2 separate regions of the Homo sapiens genome follow, and region 2 is linked to region 1. Evidence: promoter capture Hi-C in 16 types of primary human blood cells and fetal thymus (Javierre and others, 2016). All regions are on one chromosome and are shown on one strand. The core of a region is centred on a gene start or on the middle of the fragment in contact, and the rest is flanking DNA. Distances in the headings are between cores, read along the strand shown. Region 1 holds the start of SEPTIN12 (septin 12). Region 2 has its middle 4.4 kb from the start of SEC14L5.

What was found. Contacts are between HindIII fragments. The CHiCAGO score rates a contact against its expected background, and 5 or more counts as called.
Region 2: a fragment that was not itself captured here is called in contact with the fragment with the promoter of SEPTIN12 in region 1 in 1 of 17 cell types (endothelial precursors); the score reaches 6.0 in endothelial precursors.

Annotation. Positions count from the first base shown.
Region 1 is chr16:4,786,201-4,790,486 of GRCh38, forward strand. SEPTIN12 (septin 12) reads right to left here and starts at 2,145. Exons shown (of 10, transcript NM_144605.5): 1 at 2,080-2,145; 2 at 1,280-1,467. The coding sequence starts at 1,445. It also overlaps a transcript of SMIM22 not described here. The HindIII fragment of the contact is 19,587 bases long and covers 1-3,032 here.
Region 2 is chr16:4,951,923-4,955,955 of GRCh38, forward strand. No RefSeq gene overlaps it. Among named protein-coding and RNA genes, the nearest start is that of SEC14L5, 4.4 kb to the right of the region's middle. The HindIII fragment of the contact is 2,451 bases long and covers 1,193-3,643 here.

The DNA of each region.
Region 1 (4,286 bases), core at 895-3,394:
TCTCACTCTGTCACCCAGGCTGGAGTGCAATGATGCAATCCCCGTTCACTGCAGCCTCGACCTTCCCAGACTCTAGTGATTCTCGCACCTCGGCCTCCCTAGTAGCTGGGACTGTAGGCACACGCCACCATACCCAGCTGATTTTTGCACTGCTTTTTTTTTTTTTTTTTTTGAGACGCAGTCTCGCTCTGTCACCCAGGCTGGAGCGCGATGGTGGGATCTCGGTTCACTGCAAGCTCCGCCTCCCAGATTCACGCCATTCCCCTGTCTCAGCCTCCCAAGTAGCTGGGACTACAGGCGCCCGCCACCACGCCTGGCTAATTTTTTTGTATTTTTAGTAGAGACGGGGTTTCACCATGTTAGCCAGGATGGTCTTGATTTCCTGACCTCATGATCCGCCTGCCTCAGCCTCCCAAAGTGCTGGGATTACAGGCGTGAGCCACCACACCCGGCCTTGCACTGTTTTTTAATTTTTAAGACAGGGTCTCAATCTGTCACCCAGACTCAAGTGATCGCAGCTCACTGCAACCTCCACCCTCAGGTTCAAACGATCCTCCCACCTCAGCCCCCCAAGTAGCTGGGATTCAGGTGCATGTCACCATGCCTGGCTAATTTTTAAATTTTTTTTGTAGAGATGGGGTCTTGCTGTGTTGCCTAGGCTGGTCATGAACTCCTGGCCTCCAGGGATCCTTCTGCTTCAGTCTTGCTCTGTCACCCAGGCTGGAGTACAGTGGCGCAATCTCGGCTCACTACAACATCTGCCTCCCAGGTTCAAGCAATTCTCCTGCCTTAGCCTCCTAAGTAGCTCCTAAGTACAGGCGCCCACCACCACGCCTGGCAAATTTTTGTATTTTTAGTAGAGACGGAGTTTCCCCATGTTGGCCAGGCTGTTTTCGAACTCCTGACCTCAAGTGACCCTCCTGCCTTGGCCTTTCAAAGTGCTGGAATTACAGGCTTGAGCCACCATGCCCGGCCTCATTTTTGTACTTTTTGTAGACATTAGGTTTTGCTAGTCTCAAACTCCTGAGCTCAAGTGATCCACCCACCTCAGTCTCCCAAAACCCTGGATTATAGGTGTGAGCCACCGCTCCAGGCACATTTTTGTCTTTTAATGACTCAGCATTTCTCAAATTTTCAATGACAACATCCCTGTGAGGTGCTATTATCAGGCCCACCTAAGAGATGGGGAGGGGCGACAGGCTGCCAAAGGTGAGGCCACACGCCCAGGCACGCGTAGCACTGTGGGTCTGTCCTGCCGTGGGCCCTACCTCTCACTCACCCACCACCATGATGTTGAACTCAAACCCCATCTTCATAGCCTTGATCTTCAGCTGGTCCAGCACAGCCTCAATGCCCACAGGACCAAGCATCTCGCAGGGTGGGGTGCTGGGGCTGGAGGGCTGCGAGGACAGGCAGGGAGAGGGGGAGCGCCTCAGGGGGTCCATGGGGGCCAAGGGTTCGAGATGCCTGTCACCAGGTGGGTGGGGAGAAGGGGGTCACTGGGGCTCAGAGGAGCCCACATTGACCTCTCCTATCTGAACCCCTATTTGAGCTTGGCCGTTGGCCAACCCCCTCCACACTTCATGCCTCTGGTGTACCCTAAGTGCCTGTAGTCCCAGGGGTGTGGCAAGGGTGCCTGTGGGGAGCTGTTTCTGCAGGGTGCCTCAACACCCATCCAGAGAGGCTCCGCTGCCCAAGGGTCTGCCCTGTCCCCACCTACAGCCCAGGCAGGGGCCTCTCAGGTCGCTTCCCCCAGCAGAGCCTGGAGGGCCAGGCAAAGTCCAGGATGGGTGTTTGCAGCCAGGCTGGAGTCCTGGAGGGGCTTCAGGGAGTGTGTATGGGGTGAAGTGGCTCCCGTCCCAGCAGGAAACTTGGGCAGGGGGCTCAGGAGGAGGTGCCCCCACTTTCCCCAGGGGGACACACAGCAGAGTTGATAGAGAGCGAGAAAGACGGCACAGGCATGAAGGTGACGGAGACAGAGAGAGAGAGACCAAGGTCAGGCAGGGAAGATGGCTGGGAGGGAGCGGTGCGAAGAGCCCACGGGGGGCAGAGAGAGAGAGAAGCAGCCTGCTGTGACACCTGGTGGACGTGGGTCCTGGTGGAGCTTCCAGGAGCTGCCTTGTCCTGGCAGGGCCTGGTGTGTGTGATGGGGGAGGGGAGAGGGTGACAGTTAACCGAAGAATCTGAGCTCCATCTGCACTTGCTGTGACCCCCACCTGGAGGCTTCTCTGCAGCAGGAGCAGGAGCTGTTACCCTTCTAATCCCCACAATGACCCCAGCCTAATAATACAATAATCCCCAAGTAGAACCAGGGGCCCAAGGCCCCCTCGTCAGCTGGGCTCCCACCTCCAAGCTGACGCCCTCAACCACTCTGCTGGGGTGAGCAAACCCAGGCCCCACAGCTGGCTAGCGGGATATCCGTGTCCACGATTGGCGCCATGTGTTTTAAGTTGCAGCGTCAAAAACATGAAGAGATTGCTTTAGCAAATATTTACCCAGTCCTGACTCTGCACATGGCATCGTTCTAGGAGCCCAAAGATGTTAACTTGTTTAATAATCAAGCCCTGTGAAGTAAGTGCTGTTACTACCCCAAGCTGATAGATAAGAGAGGGTCAGGTGAGGAGGTGGCAGAGTCTCTGCCGCTCTGAGTCTGTGTGCTCACCCTCTACTGCCTTTTTCTGGTTTACAGAAACATCTAGATTTCCGGTGTATCTTAGAGGTTATCACCCTGACTTGAGATGCCCTCTTTAAATAGGCCATGTGCTTTCCAGACTGTGGTCCTCACCCCTGCCTTACTGTCTCTCTGATAAGCTGTTTCTTTTTTTGTTGTTTGTTTTTGAGACAGCCTCGCTCTGTTGCCCTTGCTGGAATGCAGTGGCGCGATCTCGGCTCACTGCAACCTCCGCCTCCTGGGTTCAAGCAATTCTCTTGCCTCAGCCTCCCAAGTAGCTGGATTACCGGTGTGCACCACCACGCTAATTTTGTATTTTTAGTAGAGAAGGGGTTTCACCACATTGGTCAGGCTAGTCACAAGCTTCTGACCTCAAGTGATCCACCAACCCTGGTCTCCCAAAGTGTTGGGATTAGTGAGCCACCATGCCTGGCCTTTTTTTTTCTTTTTTCCTTTTTTTCTTTTTTTTTTTGAGACGGAGTCTCGCTCTGTCACCCAGGCTGGAGTTTAGTGGCATGATCTCGGCTCACTGTAAGCTCTGCCTCCCGGGTTCACGCCGCTCTCCTGCCTCAGCCTCCCGAGTAGCTGGGACTACAGGCGCCTGCCACCACGCCCGGCTAATTTTTTCCTATTTTTAGTAGAGACTGGTTTTCCCTGTGTTAGCCAGGATGGTCTCGATCTCCTGATCTCGTGATCTGCCCTCCTCGGCCTCCCAAAGTGCTGGGATTACAGGCGTTAGCCCCTGCGCCCAGCCCTTTTTAAAATTTTTTTGAGACACGGTCTCACTATGTTGCCCATGCTGGTCTCAAACTCCTGGGTTCTAGTGATCCTCTCACCTCAGCCTCCCTAAATGCTGAGATTACAGACGTGAACCACCATGCCCAGCCTGATAAGCTGTTTCTTATACCAAGTCCATCTCACACAGTTAATTCTTTCTTGTTTCCTGGTACTTGACTTCACAAGGCTTAGGCATTCCTGTGTCCTTGCTATTGGCAAATGTTTTCTCTTTCTTTTTTCTTTCTTTTCTCCTTTCTTTTCTTTCTTTTTTTTTTTTCTTTTTTGGGACAGGGTCTCACTTTGTCACCCAAGTTGGAGTGCAGAGGCACAATGACAGCTCACTGCAGCCTCGACTTCCTGGGTTCAAGTGATCCTCCTGCCCCAGCCTCCCTAGTAGCTGGGACTTCAGGTACGTAGACCATGCTGGGCTAATTTTTTTACTTTTTGTAGAGATGAGGTCTCCCTATGTTGCCCAAGATTGTCTTGAACTCCTGGGGTCAAGGGGTCCAGCTGCCTCAGCCTCCCAAAGCGCCACCACACTCAGGCTGGCAAGTGTTTTCTGTAAAGGGCCAGATGGTCCCTATTTTAGGCTTTGCTGGTCCTAAGTTCTCTGTTGCAACTACTATGCAACTTTTCATTGCAGTGAGAAAGTCGCCACAGACAATAGGTAAACAGATGGGCGTGGCTGTGTCTAAGTAAAACCGTATTCACAGAAGAAAGGTGGCCGTGGTTCCAGCTTTCCTGAGCCCCAGGCCGACTTCTGCCCTTTGCTGTCCACTACCTTCTGCCAGTTCTTCCTTCTGGGGAACTCCCGCTCCTTCCTGGAGGCTTAACCTTA
Region 2 (4,033 bases), core at 1,168-3,667, 170 kb after region 1:
TATAAAACATTGCCCATCTTAATTAATCATTTTTCAGTGTGCAGTTCAGTGGCATTCACATTATTGTGTAACCATCACACCATCCATCTCCAAAACTCCTTTTTTTTTTTTTTTTTTTTTGAGAGTCTCGCTCTGTTGCCCAGGCTGGAGTGCAGTGGTGCAATCTTGGCTCACCATAACCTCCGCCTCCTGGGTTCAAGCGATTCTCCTGCCTCAGCCTCCCGAGTATCTGGGATTACAGGTGCGTGCCACCATGGCCGGCTAATTTTTGTATTTTTAGTAGAAATGGGGTTTCACTATGTTGGCCAGCCTGGTCTCAAACTCCTGACCTCGTGATCCGCCCGCCTCGGGCTCCCAAAGTGCTGGGATTACAGGCGCGAGCCACTGTGCCCGGCCCAGAACTCTTTTCATCTTCTAAAACCCAAACTCTGTGTCCATTAATTAACTCCCCATGCCCCTCCCCCCAGCCCCTAGCCCCGCCACCGTTCTTCTTTCTGTCCCTGTGGATTGGGCTCCTCTAGGTGACTCAGATGTGGAATCACTCAGTTCTTGCCCGTTCAGCATAATGTCCTCCAGGTTCATCCAAGTCGTAGTGCGTGTGGGTGCTTTATTCCTCTCTAATGCTGAATAATTTTTCATGTTACCCCTATTTTTTTTTTTTTTTGAGATGGAGTCTCACTCTATTGCCCAGGCTGGAGTATAGTGGCATGATCTCAGCTCACTGCAACCTCCACAATCCGGGTTCAAGCAATTCTCCTGCCTCAGCCTCCCGAGTAGCTGGGATTACAGGGGTGCGCCACCACGCCAGCCAATTTTTGTATTTTTAGCAGAGATGGGTTTTGCCATGTTGGCCAGGCTGGTCTCAAACTCCCGACCTCAGGTGATCCACCCACCTCAGCCTCCCAAAGTGCTGGGATTACAGCCGTGAGCCACTGTGCACAGCCCATGTTACCCCATGTTAAAAGGAGGGGACATTGGCTGGGCGCAGTGGCTCATGCTTGTAATCCCAGCACTTTGGGAGGCCGAGGCGGGTGGATGACAAGGTCGGGAGATCGAGACCATGGTGGCTAACACGGTGAAACCCCGTCTCTACTAAAAATACAAAAAAATTAGCCGGGCGTGGTGGTGGGCGCCTGTAGTCCCAGCTACTCGGGAGGCTGAGGGAGGAGAATGGCATGAACCTGGGAGGCGAAGCTTGCAATGAGCCGAGATCACGCCATTGCACTCCAGCCTGGGCGATAGAGTGAGACTCTGTCTCAAAAAAAAAAAAAAAAAAAAAAGAGGGGACATTGAGGCAACAAAGCTAGGGGGTGGCAGGGTCAGAACGCACATCAAGGTTGGTCTGACTCCTGTACCCGCCCCAAGTGCCCGGCCACCTGACCCCTCCCACAGGGCCACCCCTCCCATCCCCTGGGCCACCCTCCTCCCGCTGTGTTCCATTCTCTCCTTTGGGCTTCATGTAGCAGTTGGTGGAGCCCAGAAGTCTTTGTGAAGTGAATGGACTTGGGTGCCCGGCTGGGGGTCAAGGTGGGTGGGTCCTGGCTGTGTAGCCCCCTGGGTCAGACTGCCTCAGACTCAGCCTCTGCTCAGTCAAAGCTGCTCCCATGACCAGGACTGTTCCACAGAGTTGTGCAGGTTACAACCTATACACCTGTACGTAACAGCCCTGCCAACCATCATGATAGCCCTGGAGATTCCCAAATCCAGGAGGCCTCAGGGCTCTGCTTCGAGAAGGGGCAAGAAGCAACACAACGTAGAGGCCACCCGGGACGAATGAGATGTCCCCCAGGAAGCAGATAAACAGATGGATGGTTTCCAGGGGCTGCGGGAAGGGAGGAAGGAGGAGTGACAGCTTCATGGGTATGAGTTTCCTTTTGGGGTGATGAAAATGTTCCAAAACTAGAAAGTGGTGCTGGCTGTACGTGCATCTTGTGAATATACCAAAAGCCAGAGAATTGTACACTAAGAAATGGTTAAAATGGTAACTTTTGTGTTATGTGCATTTTTTTTTTTTGAGATAGAGTCTCGCTCTGTCACCCAGGCTGGAGTGCAATGACATGATCTTGGCTCACTGCAACCTCCACCTGCTGGGTTCAAGCAATTCTCCTGCCTCAGCCTCCTGAGTAGCTGGGATTACAGGCATGCAGCACACTAAGAAATGGTTAAAATGGTAACTTTTGTGTTATGTGCTTTTTTTTTTTTTGAGATGGAGTTTCTCTCTTGTTGCCCAGGCTGGAGTGCAATGGCATGATCTTGACTCACCGCAACCTCTGCCTCCCGGGTTCAAGCGATCCTCCTGCCTCAGCCTCCCCAGTAGCTGGGATTTCAGGCATGCATCACCACACCCAGCTAATTTTGTATTTTTAGTAGAGACGAGGTTTGTTCATGTTGATCAGGCTGGCCTCGAACTCCCAACCTCAGGTGATCTGCCCACCTCGGTCTCCCAAAGTGCTGGGATTACAGGCATGAGCCATCGTGCCCAGCTGATTTTTTTCTTTTTTTTTTTTTTTTTTGAGATGGAGTCTCACTCTGTTGCCCAGGCTGGAGTGCAGTTGTGTGATCTCAGCTCACTGCACCCTCCACCTCCCAGGTTCAAGTGATTCTCCTACCTCAGCCTCCTGAGTAGCTGGGATTACAGGCATGCGCTACCATGCCTGGCTAATTTTTTCATTTTTAGTAGAGACAGGTTTTTGCCATGTTGTCCAGGCTGGTCTCGAACTCCTGACCTCAGGTGATCCGCCCACCTCGGCCTCCCAAACTGTTGGGATTACCGGCATGAGCCACTGTGCTCGGACCATTTTGCCACAATAAAATTAAGCTGGGGACCGTACCCTGCTTACTGCATCTTCTTCAGCTTCAGAGCCATCCCAGGGCCCATTATGTATTCCAGGGTCTTAACCCCCATTCTCAATGTCACACTGAGCCATTCAACTCAGGACATTCCCAGCAGGATGCCTTCCAGGAACATCTGCCTTTGGATGGGGTCCAGAGTTTTACTCAAACAAATGCATCACTAATGGTTGAATCTTCTCTGGCAGTGGCCCATCTGCTGGGAAGACATTCAGAGACATGAGGTGGTTTCTGGGGTTCCCAAAACCCACCTCCACAAAAGGCAGCATTGGCTGGGTCATTCTTGCAGGGCAGGTGGGAAGCAGCAGATAGAGGCTAAAGATCCTGCCCTGGGACTGAGTTCATGCCCAGCACCCCTGGGGAATCAGCCTATCCTTGCAGCGCCTTCTTGTCCTGGAGCCAGGGTGCCTGGAGATCTTGCAGTTCAGGGCTTGGAAATCACATCTTCCCGGAGCATCAGCTGCAGCTCTAGGAGAAGAAGTCATTGGAGAACGAGAGTCCTGGGTATGAGTTCCTTACTAGCTGTGTGGCCTTGGGCAAGTTATTCAGTCTCTCTGTGCCTTGTGCCTTAGTTTCCCTACGTGTAAGATGAGGATTAAAATAGTTTTGACTGTATATGGGCTTTTAATTGAGATGAAAGCCACGTAACAGAAAATTAATCATTTTAATATTGTGGCCCCAATTCAGTGGCATGTGCATTTGCAACGTTGTGCAACCACCACCTCTATCACATTCCAAGACATTTTCATTGCTCTGGGGTTGCTTTGAGGATTAAATGCATTCGTGTTTGTAAAGCTTTAGAATGGTGCTAGGTATAGTAAGCGCCAATGGAGTGTCAACAAGTGGTAGGAATAATTAGTAGAACAGTAATAATAGGCAACTGGGCCAGGTGTGGTGGCTCATGTCTGTAATCCCAGCACTTTGGGTGGCTGAGGCGGGTGGATCACCTGAGGTCAGGAGTTTGAGGCCAGCCTGGCCAACATGATGAAACCTGTCTCTACTGAAAATACAAAAATTAGCCAGGTGTGGTGGCAAGCGCCTGTAATCCCAGCTACTCGGGAGGCTGAGGCAGGAGAATTGCTTGAACCTGGGAGGCGGAGGTTGTAGTGAGCCGAGACTGCGCCACTGCACTCCAGCCTGGGCAACAGAGCAAGACTCCACGTAAAAAAAAAACCCCAAAACC